Regions from separate parts of the Homo sapiens genome. Here regions 1, 2 and 3 are each linked to region 4. The links are contacts of gene promoters, found by promoter capture Hi-C in human tissues and cell types (Jung and others, 2019). All regions are on one chromosome and are shown on one strand. The core of a region is centred on a gene start or on the middle of the fragment in contact, and the rest is flanking DNA. Distances in the headings are between cores, read along the strand shown.

Region 1 (3,143 bases), core at 181-2,680, 61 kb after region 4:
CAAACCAGAGCCGTTCCTATTCAGCCATCTTGGAACGGGAGGTCTCTGCTCTATTTTTAAATTGTGTGTTATTTTTGTTGTTAAGTTTGTTAAATATTCTATAAGTTTATCTTTTGTTGTGTATATTTCACAAATATTTTCTTTCATTCTGTAGATTATCTCTTCACTTTGTTAACGTTTTCTTTGCTGTGCAAAACATTTTTAGTTTGTTGTAATCCCATTTGCATAATGTTACTTCTTTTGCCTGTGCTTTTGAGGTCTTACTTAAAAATTCTTTGCTCTGTAATATGTGGTAAAGCATTCCTCTATGTTTATCCAAATAGCTTTATAGGTTTGGGTTTCACATTTAAATCTTTATTTGCGATTGAGTTTTTTATACTGTAAGAGCTAGGGGCCTAGTTTCATTTTTTGATTATCATGTAGGTAATCAATTTTCCTAGCACCAATTATTGAAAAGACTGTCTTTTTCCAAATGTGTGTTCTTGACATCTTTGTTGAAAATCACTTGCCTCTAGTTTCATGAATTTATTACTGGGCTCACTGGATAGTTTGATCTGTCTGTTTTTATGCCAGTATCATGTTGTTTTGCTTATTATAGCTTTATAGCATATTTCGGAGTCAGGTAGTGTAATGCCTCCAGCTTGATTCTTTTTGCCCAGGATTACCTTTGCTATTTGGGGGTCTTTGGTTGGTCCTGGTTAATTTTAAGCTTGTTTATTCCATTGCTGTGAAAAAAGTCTTTGGTATTTTGATAGAGATGGCATTGAATCTGTAGATCACCTTGGGTAGTATGGCCACTTTCGTAATGTTTTTTCAATTCATGAGGAAAAATATCTTTCAATTTTTATGTCTTTTTCAGTTTTTTATCAATTTTGTTGTTGTTTGCTTTTTGAGACAAAGTCTCACCCTGTTGCCCAGGCTGGAGTGCAATGGCACAATATCAGTGCACCACAACCTCTGCCTCCTGGGTTCAAATGATTCTCCTGTCTCAACCTCCTGAGTAGCTGGGATGACAGGCGTGTGCCGCCCCACTAATTTTTGTATTTTTAGTAGTGACGGGGTTTCACCATGTTGGTCAGGCTGCTCTCGAACTACTGACCTCGTGATCTGCCCACCTTGGCCTACCAAAGTGCTAGGATTACAGGCGTGAGCCACCACACCCAGCATTATCAATGTTTTATAATTATCAGTGTAGAGAGTGTTCACCTTTTCAATTCGGTTTGCTGCTAGACATATTTTATTTTATTTATTTAATTTGGGATGGAGTCCTGCTTTGTCGCTCAGACTGGAGCGCACTGGTGCGATCTTGGCTCACCACAACCTCTGCCTCCTAGGTTCAAGCAATTCTCCTGCCTCAGCCTCCTGAGTAGCTGGGAGTAGCTGGACTGCACCTGGTTAATTTTTGTATTTTTAGGAGAGACAGTGTTTCGCCATGTTGACCAGGCTGGTCTTGAGCTCTGGACCTCAGGTAATCCTCCTGCCTCAGCCTCCCAAAATGCTAGGATTACAGGCGTGAGCCACTGAACCTGGCCAACTGGTGGATGTAGAAGCAACACTGGCAAAATTGAACATGGCTTTGTGATTTAAGAAACTCAACGAATTAGGTATAGATCATATGTACCTCAATACAGTAAAGACCCTATATGACAGATTAATAGCTGATATCATACTGGATAGGAAAGAGCAGAAATCTTCTTTTTTTGAGATCTGGAACAGGACAAGTATGTTTTTATTTTATATTATAATTGTGTATGACAGCATTCAGCTGTGTACACTGTAAGACTGGAGCACAAGTGAAATATGGATCACTGATATGTCTATTTCCAATATGAGTCTATCTGTATGTGTATTGGTTTTGTATTGTTTATGAGTTGTTTACTTGTTCTGTTTATGTGTGTTCAATGGTGGTTTTGAATAGTCATTGAAATCCTCCTAATTTTACTTTCTATTTATTTGTAAATCTATATTTGTGTGTGGGAGAAACACTTTTGCGACTTGAAGATAAGTTCAAAAACTGTCATATGTCTGTATCTCAGATTTTAGATACTATTTTTAATTGTCAAAAACACATAAACTTTACAATCTTTTTTTTTTTTTTTGATGTGGAGTCTCACTCTGTCACCCAGGCTGGAGTGCAGTGGTGCGATATCAGTTCACTGCAACCTCTGCCTCCCAGGTTCAAGCGATTCTTCTGCCTCAGCCTCCTGAGTAGCTGGGATTACAGGTGCGCACCACCATGCCCAACTAATTTTTGTATTTTTTGTAGAGACGGGGTTTCACCATATTGGCCAGGCTAGTCTTGATCTCCTGACCTCATGATCTGTCCGCCACGGCCTCCCAACATGCTGAGATTACACCGCGCCCAGCCAAAACTTTACAATCTTAAATACTGTTTTTTTCCAAAGTTTGTTGTCATAATTTAAGTTCTGGGGTACACGTGCAGAACATCCAGATTTTGTTACATAGGTATACACGTGCCATAAATACTTTTAAGTATTTACCTTAGTCATATTATATCGATATTCTTATGCACTCTGTCTGGAATATGTTTATCTTGCAAGGCTAACACTCATACACATTAAACAACTACCTACTTTTTCTGTTTTCTGGCCCTTTACAAAAACAATTCTGTTTTCTATTTTAGAGTCAGACTGCTTTATATATCTCATGTAAGTTGACTCATGCAATTTTTGTCTCTTCATGGCTGACTTATTTTGTGTTACACAGTGCCATCAACATTTATCTTTATTATACATATTAGGATACTTTTTGCTTTTTATAAACAGTAATGTTTCATTTTTTTAAAGGATTTTTTTTTTGAGACAGAGTCTTGCTCTGTCACCCAGTCAGAATGTAAGTGCAGTGGCACCATCTCAGCTCACTGCAACCTCCACGTCCCAGGTTCAAGCAATTCTTGTGCCTCAACCACCCAAGTAGCTGGGATTACAGACGTGCACCACCACACCCATCTAATTTTTGTATTTTTAGTAGAGACAGGGTTTCACCACATTGGTCAAGCTGATCTCGAACACCTGACCTCAAGCGATCCACCTGTCTCGGCCTCCCAAACTGCTGGGATTACAGGCATGAGCCACCATGCCTGGCCAATCGGCCAATGTTTCATTATTTTAATATTTCAAATT
Region 2 (3,281 bases), core at 551-3,050, 44 kb after region 4:
ACCATGCCCAGCTAATTTTTTGTATTTTTAGTAGAGACGAGGTTTCACTGTGTTAGCCAAGATGGTCTCGATCTCCTGATCTCATGATCTGCCTGCCTCGGCCTCCCAAAGTGCTGAGATTACAGGCCTGAGCCACCACACCCAGCTGGATATTAACTTATCAGATATGGCTTGCAAATGCTTTTCTATTTTGTAGGGTTTTTAAAAATTTTGTTTTTATTTTTTCCTTTGATGTGCAGAGGCTGTTTACTTTGATGCAGTCTCACTTGTTTATATTTTATTTTGTTGCTGTGCTGTTGATGTCATTTCAAAAAAAGTTATTGCCGAGACCAATATCAACAAGGTTTTTCCATATGTTTTCTTCATGAGTTTTAAGATTTCATGTCTTAATTTCAGTCTTTGTTTTGAAGTCTGAAATTAGAAAGCATGATGCCTGCCAGACAAGGTGGCTCACACCTGTAATCCCAGCACCTTGGGAGGCCGAGGTGGGCGGATCACTTGAGATCAGGAGTTCAAGACTAGCCTGGCCAATATGGTGAAACCCTGTCTCTACTAAAAATATACAAAAACTAGCTAGGGGTGGTAGTGGGCGCTTGTAATCCCAGCTACTCGGGAAGCTGAGGCAGGAGAATCACTTGAACCCAAGAGGCAGAGGTTTCAGTGAGCCTAGATCACTGAACCTAGATTGTGCCACTGCACTCCAGCCTGGGTGACAGAGCTGGACTCCATCTCAAAAAAAAAAAAAAAACAAGTATGATGCCCCCAGCTTTGTTCTTTCTCAAGATTGATTGCTCAGGTTATTAAAAGTCGTTTAAGGTTACACCTAAATTTTACAATTGTGTTTTCTATTAGTGTGAAAAATGCCAATAAAATTTTGATAGGGATCACATTGAATCTATAGATCACTTTGGATAATATTCTTTGACAATATTAGTTATCCTAATGGAATATGTTTCCATTTATTTGTTTCTACTTCACTTTCTGTCATTGATATCTTATTGTATTTAGTGTATAATACTATATGTTTTTTATGTCATTTGGTTAAATTTATTTTGATTAACTTTCTTATTTTTATACTATTGCAAATGGAAATGGTTTCTATTTTTGGAAAGTTTGTTTTTACTCTATGGAAATGCAAGAAATATTTGTATGTGGTGCCAGGTGCAGTGGCTCATTTCTGTGATCCCAGCACTTTCAGAGCCCAAGGCAGTTGTATCATGTGAGTACAGGAGTTTGAGATAAGCCTGGGCAATAGAGTGAGGCCCTGTCTCAAAAAAAAAAAAATCCCAACAAGCATCTATATGTTGATTATGTATCCTGATACTTTAATGAATGCATTTATTAGTTCAATCAATTTTTCTTATTTTACTCTAGGGTTTTATGTATATGCATGATGATATTATCCACAAACAGTAACTTTTTTATTTCTTTTCCACTCTGGAGAGCTTTATTCTCCTTTTCCTTGTCTAATTGTTTTGATACAAACTTCCAGTCACATGTTAAGATAGAAGCTGTGGCCCTGGAGGCAGGCCTGCAAGTCTTGTCCCCGGCTGTGGTCTCTGAAGCAGCCCTGTGTCTGCATTTGACAAATTTCACAGTTTGTATAAACTATTTTTGGCAGGTAAAGATCTCCTTTTGTTGAGTCCCAGGCTGATGAGATTACCTCTGGGGTTGCAGAGAAGAAGGGTTGTAGCTGGGTCACAAGGGTGCTGCTGGGTCTGCTGTGGGGTCTGCCTTTGATGATTGTATTACCAGAGATTTGGACAGTCATGGATTATTTCTGGGCCCTGGAGAGATTAGATTTCCTTGAGGATATTAATCTATATGGCAGGCAGTAGACTAGGGTTTTGAAGTTTGTCTGCATATGATGGGCCAAATACCAGGTGTATGAATGGGTTTGGCTTCTACTGACAACCTGGGAACAGTTTCCACACTTTTCTCTTTGGGTCCCTGATTGTGTACAACTGGCCATGGACTGTGACTGTGAGGGCTAGAACTGAGTCACAGGGCTCAGGAGCACAGCTGAGGCCAGGATATACAGGCCTGCCTCCAGGGCCATGGCTGGGTGTGTATCTCCCTGCAGGTCTCTTGATGGGAAGGACCACGTCTGGACTGTAGCTGAGATTGAATTTGAGAGAGGTTACAGAACTGCTTCAGAATCCTCAGTAAGACCAAGCTCAGTGTGCCATTTCCTTGTCTGTAGCCATGTCTATGGGCTCTTGAGTTGGCCATCTGAGTGAGGGCCTGCTTATTCTAAATAACCCTCGATCTCTGGCTCCACTGAGGTTTCACAACCCTAACCATAGGCAAGCACCTTTCTACTTCTGCTTTCTATGTGCTTACTACTTAAAATATTGTATAAAAATGGAATCATGCATTGTCACTTTGTTAGCGTCTTATTTCACTAAAATAATGGCCTCAGGATTTATCCTTATTGTAGCATCTGACAAGACATTTTCATTTGAAGCTAAAGAATATTTCATTGCGTGTATAAGCCACATCTTTTAAAATCTTTCATTCATTGAAGGATGTTTGAATTTTTTCACTTTTTCACTTTTGTAAATTATACGGTTTGGATCTATGTCCCCATTCAAATCTCATGTCAAATGTAATCCCTATTGTTGGAGGTGGGGCCTTGAGGGAGATGATTGGATCGTAGGGTTGGCTTTTCATGAATAGTTTAGTACCAGCCCCTTTGGTACTGTCTTTGCCATAGTGAGTGAGTTCTCCCGAGATCTTATTTTTTATTTATTTATTTTTTGAGATGGAGTCTCGCTCTGTGGCTCAGGCTGGAGTGCAGTGGCATGATCTCGGCTCACCGCAAGCTCCACCTCACGGGTTCATGCCATTCTCCTGCCTCAACCTCCAGAGTAGCTGGGATTACAGGTGCTTGCCACCATGCCCGGCTAATTTTTTGTACTTTTTTTTTTTTTTAGTAGAGACGGGGTTTCACCATGTTAGCCAGGATGGTTTGGATCTCCTGACCTCATGATCCGTCCACCTCAGCCTCCCAAAGTGCTGGGATTACAGGCGTGAGCCACCGCGCCCGGCCTGAGATCTTATTTTTTAAAAGCATGTGGCACCTCCCCTCTCACTCTTGTCTTGCTCCTGTTCCCACTGTGTGAGATGACTCACTCTCCCTTTGCTTTGTGCCGTGACTGGAAGCTTTCTGAGGCCTCCCCAAAAGTAGAAGCTGCTGTGCTTCCTGTACAGCCTTCAGAACTATGAGCCAGTTAAACCTTTTTTTTTTTTTTTGAGACAGAGTCTCGCTCTGCCACTCA
Region 3 (3,437 bases), core at 831-3,330, 39 kb before region 4:
TCTCTCTTTTGTGAGCCTTGCTCACTAAATCTAGTAACCAGGTTCGTTTCCTCTCACCTAGAAACTCTCAGACTTCAAATGGTCCTGCAACAGGAATATCGACCTATTTTCCCCCAATCTGCACAGCCATGTCCCTACACATTTCCTCTGGACAATGCAAGTTCAACCTTCTGGGAGAACATGGATGGAATCTTTTTCTGACAAAAAGCAAGAGAATGAGATACTGATGAATTCTTTATCTCATATTACCAGGAAGTAGTTACAGAAGACCCACAGTGCCCCTAGACTCAAAGATTTTTGGAGTCTCAATCTATTGAGGAGGGAACGTTAGAGGAGGCAGTTAGACATGAGCAGGAAAAAGCCCCTGGGGGAGAAAAATCTCATGCTCCAAAGACAACCCAAGATATGTACGCTAAATTTGAGCAGAGTGGACAGGAAATACCCATGAAGAAAGAATACCCAGAAACACCCCTTAAGACACCCAATAATTGCTCATACTGTGATTAAACTGTCAGAATGTAGCTAGCTATATGCTGACAAAAAGAGGGAAAGGGCAAAAGGAAACTTCCTAAGAGATATGCAGGCGTAGTAAGTACAGATTTGACTGCTATATGACTTTCCTAGGGTAGTGGTAATAAGCTATTCTGCCATCAAAACTCATTGATCACTGGAACTCACACATGTACATCAGCCGACAGTAAGGAAGCATCTCATAGACCTGGGAAGAAACTCAGTGAGGATAAAAGAAGAGATTTACCAGGAAGCAGGAAACTCCACAAAGACAAAGGCAGACACTTAAGACAGAGGTGGGAATTTTTTTTAAGTCTATAATAATAAAAACTGCAACATGTAAATCTCAGGGCTGTTTCCAGCTGAGCCAATCCACTCCTCCTTTGGTGTGTTCTTTATTTTCCTTTAATGAACTCTCTGCTTGCTTCACTAATTGTCTCTGGGCTGAATTGTTTCTCTCAAGAAAACAATAGCTGAGGACCTTATATATGCTGAATTACATTAATGGAATTAATGAATGTTTGAATTCAATAGCTGCCATAATCGCCTAATTTTTTCTAGAGAAGGTGACCAAGAACTTGGATAAAGTTAGATGACTAAAAATAAAAACTGTACCCCATGAACTGCATCCACCAAAACAAATTTCAAACTCAAGATTGCAATACGAATCTCAACAAAAAAAGATCATTGCAGATTTTGAATCTACACAGATCATTCTATTATTTTTGCAACACTTAACATTTAGTCAAAAATAGAAGATTCTGCATAAAAAATAAGTTTTGCTATGTCATAGAAAATTATATGTAAAATTCTTCATCTACCATTAAGTCTTAAAAATTTTATTTCAAAGATATATTTTAAGAGATTTCAAACTTCTGATGTGTTTCTTCATATGGTGCTTACAATCTGCAACCAACTTATATTTATGCTTTAATATATATTAAGGTATGTTACATTTAACACACTTTGTGTTAGATTCTCATACAATTTTTCTTTTACAAAGAGAAAAACGGTGCTCACTTAATCCTCTTACATGTGGACAGTGAATTAGTCTTACCTCAATTACATGATCTGAATGTTGCATTGATAAGCTATAATCTCAAACACGCCAGTTAAAAACAATATACATTAAAAATTCCAAACTTCTCATCAGAGCCTAGAAAGTCCAAGTGAAATTACATGGCATGAAGAGAACAGTGAGGAAACTGTAGCCATAACACAAAGAAGAGCAGTGAAGCATACATAGCTGGGGATAAACACATGAAGACATCAGAAAACTAAAGACAATTAGAAAATAAAAACAGAGGCCAGGTGCAGTGGCGGATGCCTGTAATCCCAGCACTTTTGGAGGCCGAGGTAGGTGGATCACCAGGTCAAGAGATCAAGACCATCCTGGCAACACGGTGAAACCCTGTCTCTACTAAAACTACAAAAATTAGCTAGGTATGGTGGTGTGCACCTGTAGTCCCACCTACTTGGGAGGCTGGGGCAGGAGAATCGCTTCAACCCAAGAGGCGGAGGTTGCGCTGAGCCAAGATCATGCCATTGCACTTCAGCCTGGTGACAGAGTGAGACTGTCTCAAAAAACAAAAAAAGAAATATAAGGAAAATTAAATGTTCCAATAAAATATAACTATACACATTGTAAAATTACATCTAAAAAGTATTTTCTGTGCACTAACTTTTTAAAAAAATTTTATAATTTCTGACCAGCCCACATACTTTATGGAGTTAAAAAAAAAGAATGAGAAACAAGAAAATTATACCTCTAGCATGAGCACCACATTAAAACAGAGACTTTTTACAGGGAGATTCTCAAAAATGATCCATTAGATTTTACAGTAATTACATAAAAATAAGAAAACATAGATTTTAATTCAAAATGTTTTAGGTTTCTAGATTTCCAGTAAATTATCCACAGTATTAATAGAAACTTCTTTGTTCCAATATTGCTATTTTCTTCGGAAAATAGGTACAAACTCTCATGCAAACACAATTGCTTGCTTCATAATTTTCTTACACCCAAGGTTTATCTTTAGAGCACAACATTTATATATTTAACTCCATGTAAATTAAAACTAAGTCTGTATGTTTACAGGAGAACATGATGCATGTCCAAAGATAAATATGAAACATTTTTGAAAATCATTCAGGACTCAGGAATGTATGAATTATAATTATACTCTGATATACTTATTACAATCATAAAATGACCTGTAGTAGAAAAAATTGTACATTTAAAAATAATTGAAGTGTATAATTAGATTGTGGGTAATATAAAAGATAAATGCTGGAGAAACCCCAACTCTACTAAAAATACAAAATTAGCCAGGTTGCCAGGCGCAGTGGCTCACACCTGTAATCCCAGCACTTTGGGAGGCTGAGGCAGGCAGATCACGAGGTCAGGAGATCGAGACCATCCTGGCTAACACGGTGAAACCCCGTCTCTACTAAAAATACAAAAAATTAGCCAGGCGAGGTGGCAGGCGCCTGTAGTCCCAGCTACTTGGGAGGCTGAGGCAGGAGAATGGTGTGAACCCTGGGGGGCGGAGTCTGCAGTGAGCCAAGATCACGCCACTGCACTCCAGCCTGGGTGACAGCGAGACTCCGTCTGGGGGGGGGGGGGGGGAATTAGCCAGGCATGGTGGCACATGCCTGTGATCCCAGCTACTCAGGAGACTGATTTAGGAGAATTGCTTGAACCTGGGAGGTGGAGGTTGCAGTGAGCCAAGATCGCACCATTGCACTCTGGCCTGGGCAACAAGAACGAAACTCTGTCCCAAGAAAAAGAAAAAGAAAAAAAAAAGATAAATGCTTAAGATAATGAATAACTCATTTACTCTGTCATTTATATATTGTATGCCTGTATCAAAATAACCCATATATACCATAAATATATACATAGTTATGTACCCACAAAAACTTTT
Region 4 (3,363 bases), core at 664-3,163:
AGCCGATATCACGGCACTGCCCTCCAGCCTGGGCAACAGAGTGAGACTCCGGCTCAAGAAAACAAAACAAAAAATGTTTTCAAACTAAATGCTTTAAGAAAAGGGAGAAGAGCAAAAATTATTCCCTCATTCTAAAGAGAGACCATTAAGCCGCGTCTAATTTGGGTTTGCTCCTGCAACAGCCAGGTTTAAAGGCATGGTCTTGAAGTCACTAACGTCTGAATTCTCGCAGGCAAGTGAGGGATGGACTTGGGCACACTGTGTGCACAGGAAATAAGATTTGTGAGGAAGAAAAAAGCAGAAGAGAGAAAGGAGCTATCAAGAGTCATGGTGGGGACAGGGCAGGACTGACTAAATAAAAGACTAGTTTGTGCTACAAGTGCAGGTCTAGGCAGGGTTACCATCTGACTGATTCATGTGTCCATAAAGGCAGAGGAGATTAGGATCAGGTGGTCCAGAAGCCTGGGTGGGGGAAGGAAACAGGTTCCTGCTATAGATCCAGTGTCTGGGGTTGAAATGAGCCAGGAGTCTTCCTGGCACTGTGTGTGTTATTGGCAGAATACCCTAGGAGCAAAGCTGTCACGGGCACAATTCCTGAGGGTAGAACCCTGTCCTGGGAGGAGTGTGGCAATGCGAATGGCCAGTGAGCGTCCTCGGGAGTGGGTTAGCATTAAGTGGGGGCTGGCAGCAGGGTGCAGGGAAGGGATGTTTCTCAGAACTCCTTTCCTCTAAGTTCCCAGTCCCTTCTCTCCCCGGAAGGAGACCTGGAGGAAAAGGACAGTGCCCAGCGGGACAGCACATGTGCAGAACCCGGCCGCGCCTCCCGCAGACACCAGGCATCTTTCTCCAGCCCAGGCTCAGCCATGTCTTTCTTCTGACAGAAAACGTGCGGAGTTTGCTCAACATCAGTCAATGCTCCAACCCCAACGCGGTGTCCAGCAACTCACTAACGACACCACCCAGAGTCAGCGAAGACCCCACAAGCTCAGCGCTCTTCCCGCAGCTGCCCCCCCCCTGCAGACGGCAGTCCCTGCCTCTGGACACCCGTCTTCATTTCTGAACGCCTGCCTACAAACCAGGGGCGCCCACACCCTCCTCAAGTTCAATAATGTGGCAGAACTACTCACAGAACTCAGCGAAGCGCTGTGCGCGCCCACACCAGCGTATTCTAAAAGATGCCACTCAGGAACAGCCACGCGGAGGAGGCGCACAGGGCAAGGGGACTGGTGGGCAAGTTGGAGCGGGCGGGTGATTTGCTTCGCTTCCTCACACACCTCACAAAAGCTTTTCCTTCAAGACCCGCTGGCAGCCCCCAAACCACAAGCCATGCCCGGGGCTGTCCCATTAATTAGTCCCCATTTGCTCACATGAACTCTATGTTTTGATAGGGCCTCGATCTTATTCCGAACAGGGTAAAGTAGGGACTCGACGACCGGACCACAGCTCCTCCCAGGCGGGCACCTCGCACGCCACGCAGGCGTTTTCCCGATGAGCTCCTCCTCACCCCACAGCCCAGGGAAGGTGCGGGGCTGCGGGCGCAGAGCTGCACAAGTAGGGCTGCAGGCTGGGCCAAAGCCGCCTTGCGGGGACCGACATGAACCCGGGTCCCTCACCGGAAGGGACCAAGGACTGAGGGCTGAGCGGCGGCAGCGGAGACTCCGTTCGCAGACTCCGTCCCGCCGCCGCCATTTCCCGCCGGTTCGGATGAGGCCTCCCCAGCCTTGGGACGCCCTGCCCCCACACTCACCATTTCCCCACTTCAGGGGTGTAGCGGAGTCTCAGCTACGAATCATCCAATACCCGCAGGTCACAGAGCGACGGAGGCTGAGGCTGTGACCGAATCACCGACGCCTCCCTGAGGGGTGAAAGCACGGCCGTGGAGACCCTAACCGAGCTCACGCTGGCGCAAAAGGCAAAAGCCGCGCCAGATCCCGGATGCCGCCCCCTCCTCTCCGGCTGCGCGCCTGATTGGGCAGTTCTCAATCCAGCGCTCTGATTGGATAAGATACCAAGCTCCCCACGCTCAGAATTTGAGTGACAGAACTTGCCACCACACAGTGCACTTAATGAGGCAAGAGAGACAGACTCGTGCCTCCAGGTATTTTCAGTCAGGGCTTTCTGTGCTAGGCTTGGCTCTGTTGGGGGTTCATTTTTAACCTTCTGGTGTGTAAGGTTACGCCCATTTATAAATTGTGTACGTACGCGCGCGCACACACACAGACACACACTTGTTCACAAATGGAAACAATATAATGACAATTATTTTAATATTTTAGATTTCATAACCTCTCTGTCCTCTGGTCTTTTGAGTAGGATTTTAAGGGGGAAGCAATCCTTTAAAAAATAAAATGTTAGCTATTTGTGAATTTTCAATTTTTTATTAGCCACATCAAAAATAATAAAAAGAAACAAGTGAAATTGTTTATATTTTAACCTATTGTATCCAAAATATTGTTTCAATATGTGATCAATATATAATTAGAAATAAAGTATATTTCTGATTTAATTCGTCTAAACTCACTGTGTATTTTATGTTTGCAGCACATTTTACCTCAAACCAGCCACATTCCAGGTACTCAGTAGCTACATATGTCTGGTGGCTGCCACATCGAGTACAGCCATGAGGGCTCTGACCTCAAGAAAGTGAGGGCCTGAACACGTCTTTTCTACTGGAAGTAAGGGACCAGCCTCTCTACCAACTTTTCTCCTCAGGATGAAGGATGGGTAGGACAGTGCCCCTAGAGAGAGCAGGGGCTGCAAGCTGAGAGTGTCCACGTGAAGATCACTGTCTCCCCCTTGCTGTTTGGTACCAGTGTGGTGGTCTCCTCAGTTCAACCACGTCTGGGCTCTCTTCCCATGACCAGGAAGAATAAGACATACAGACACCAGAGAGTGAGTAAAGCAGAATAGGATTTATTAAGCATAGGGAAAGCTCTCAGCAGTAAGAGGGGACATGAAAGCAGGGTGCCAGAAATGGGGCTGAGTTTATATGGCAAGAACAAGGAAGTCTTCTGTGGGCTCTGCCCAAATGGGAGGGGTAAAGTTCCCCTATAACAGTGTTGCATCTGAGCATGCCTGGGATTGACCACAGTGACTCCGTCTTGGTTATTACCCATGAGTGCCCAAGCGAAACCCACAGCAGGTGGAAAGGGTGAAGCTAAAACCAAAATACTTATGTCATGTTAGGTAACATTATAAGGAGCTGGGTCAAGTTAATGACATTTAGGTTGATTTATTACACCTGGGCCTAAGTGGGGACAGTCCCTTCTGATCAACATCCTGGCATAAGAGGAAGTTCTTAACCACATTTCTTCCCACTAGCTACAAGGGTGGTGCATGTGCGGTCCCATGGGTGTTTTTCCT

The links. The method cuts DNA at HindIII sites, captures the fragments that hold promoters and counts their contacts. A contact is called where the count stands out against the background at its distance.
Region 1: a fragment that was not itself captured here is called in contact with the fragment with the promoter of ZNF732 in region 4 in 10 of the 25 tissues and cell types used here (adrenal gland, bladder, dorsolateral prefrontal cortex and 7 more).
Region 2: a contact is called between a fragment that was not itself captured here and the fragment with the promoter of ZNF732 in region 4, in 2 of the 25 tissues and cell types used here (dorsolateral prefrontal cortex and spleen).
Region 3: a contact is called between a fragment that was not itself captured here and the fragment with the promoter of ZNF732 in region 4, in 1 of the 25 tissues and cell types used here (dorsolateral prefrontal cortex).

The regions. Positions count from the first base shown.
Region 1 is chr4:365,436-368,578 of GRCh38, forward strand. The region is part of intron 3 of ZNF141 (zinc finger protein 141); the gene reads left to right. Among named protein-coding and RNA genes, the nearest start is that of MIR571, 17 kb to the left of the region's middle. The HindIII fragment of the contact is 4,034 bases long and covers 1-3,143 here.
Region 2 is chr4:347,997-351,277 of GRCh38, forward strand. All of the region lies in intron 3 of ZNF141 (zinc finger protein 141), which reads left to right. MIR571 (microRNA 571) reads left to right here and starts at 2,161; the gene lies at 2,161-2,256. The HindIII fragment of the contact is 5,531 bases long and covers 1-3,281 here.
Region 3 is chr4:264,179-267,615 of GRCh38, forward strand. It overlaps the pseudogene LOC100533733. Among named protein-coding and RNA genes, the nearest start is that of ZNF732, 40 kb to the right of the region's middle. The HindIII fragment of the contact is 8,269 bases long and covers 1-3,437 here.
Region 4 is chr4:303,561-306,923 of GRCh38, forward strand. It overlaps ZNF732 (zinc finger protein 732), which reads right to left and starts at 1,914. Exons shown (of 4, transcript NM_001137608.3): 1 at 1,748-1,914. The coding sequence starts at 1,750. The HindIII fragment of the contact is 17,523 bases long and covers 1-3,363 here.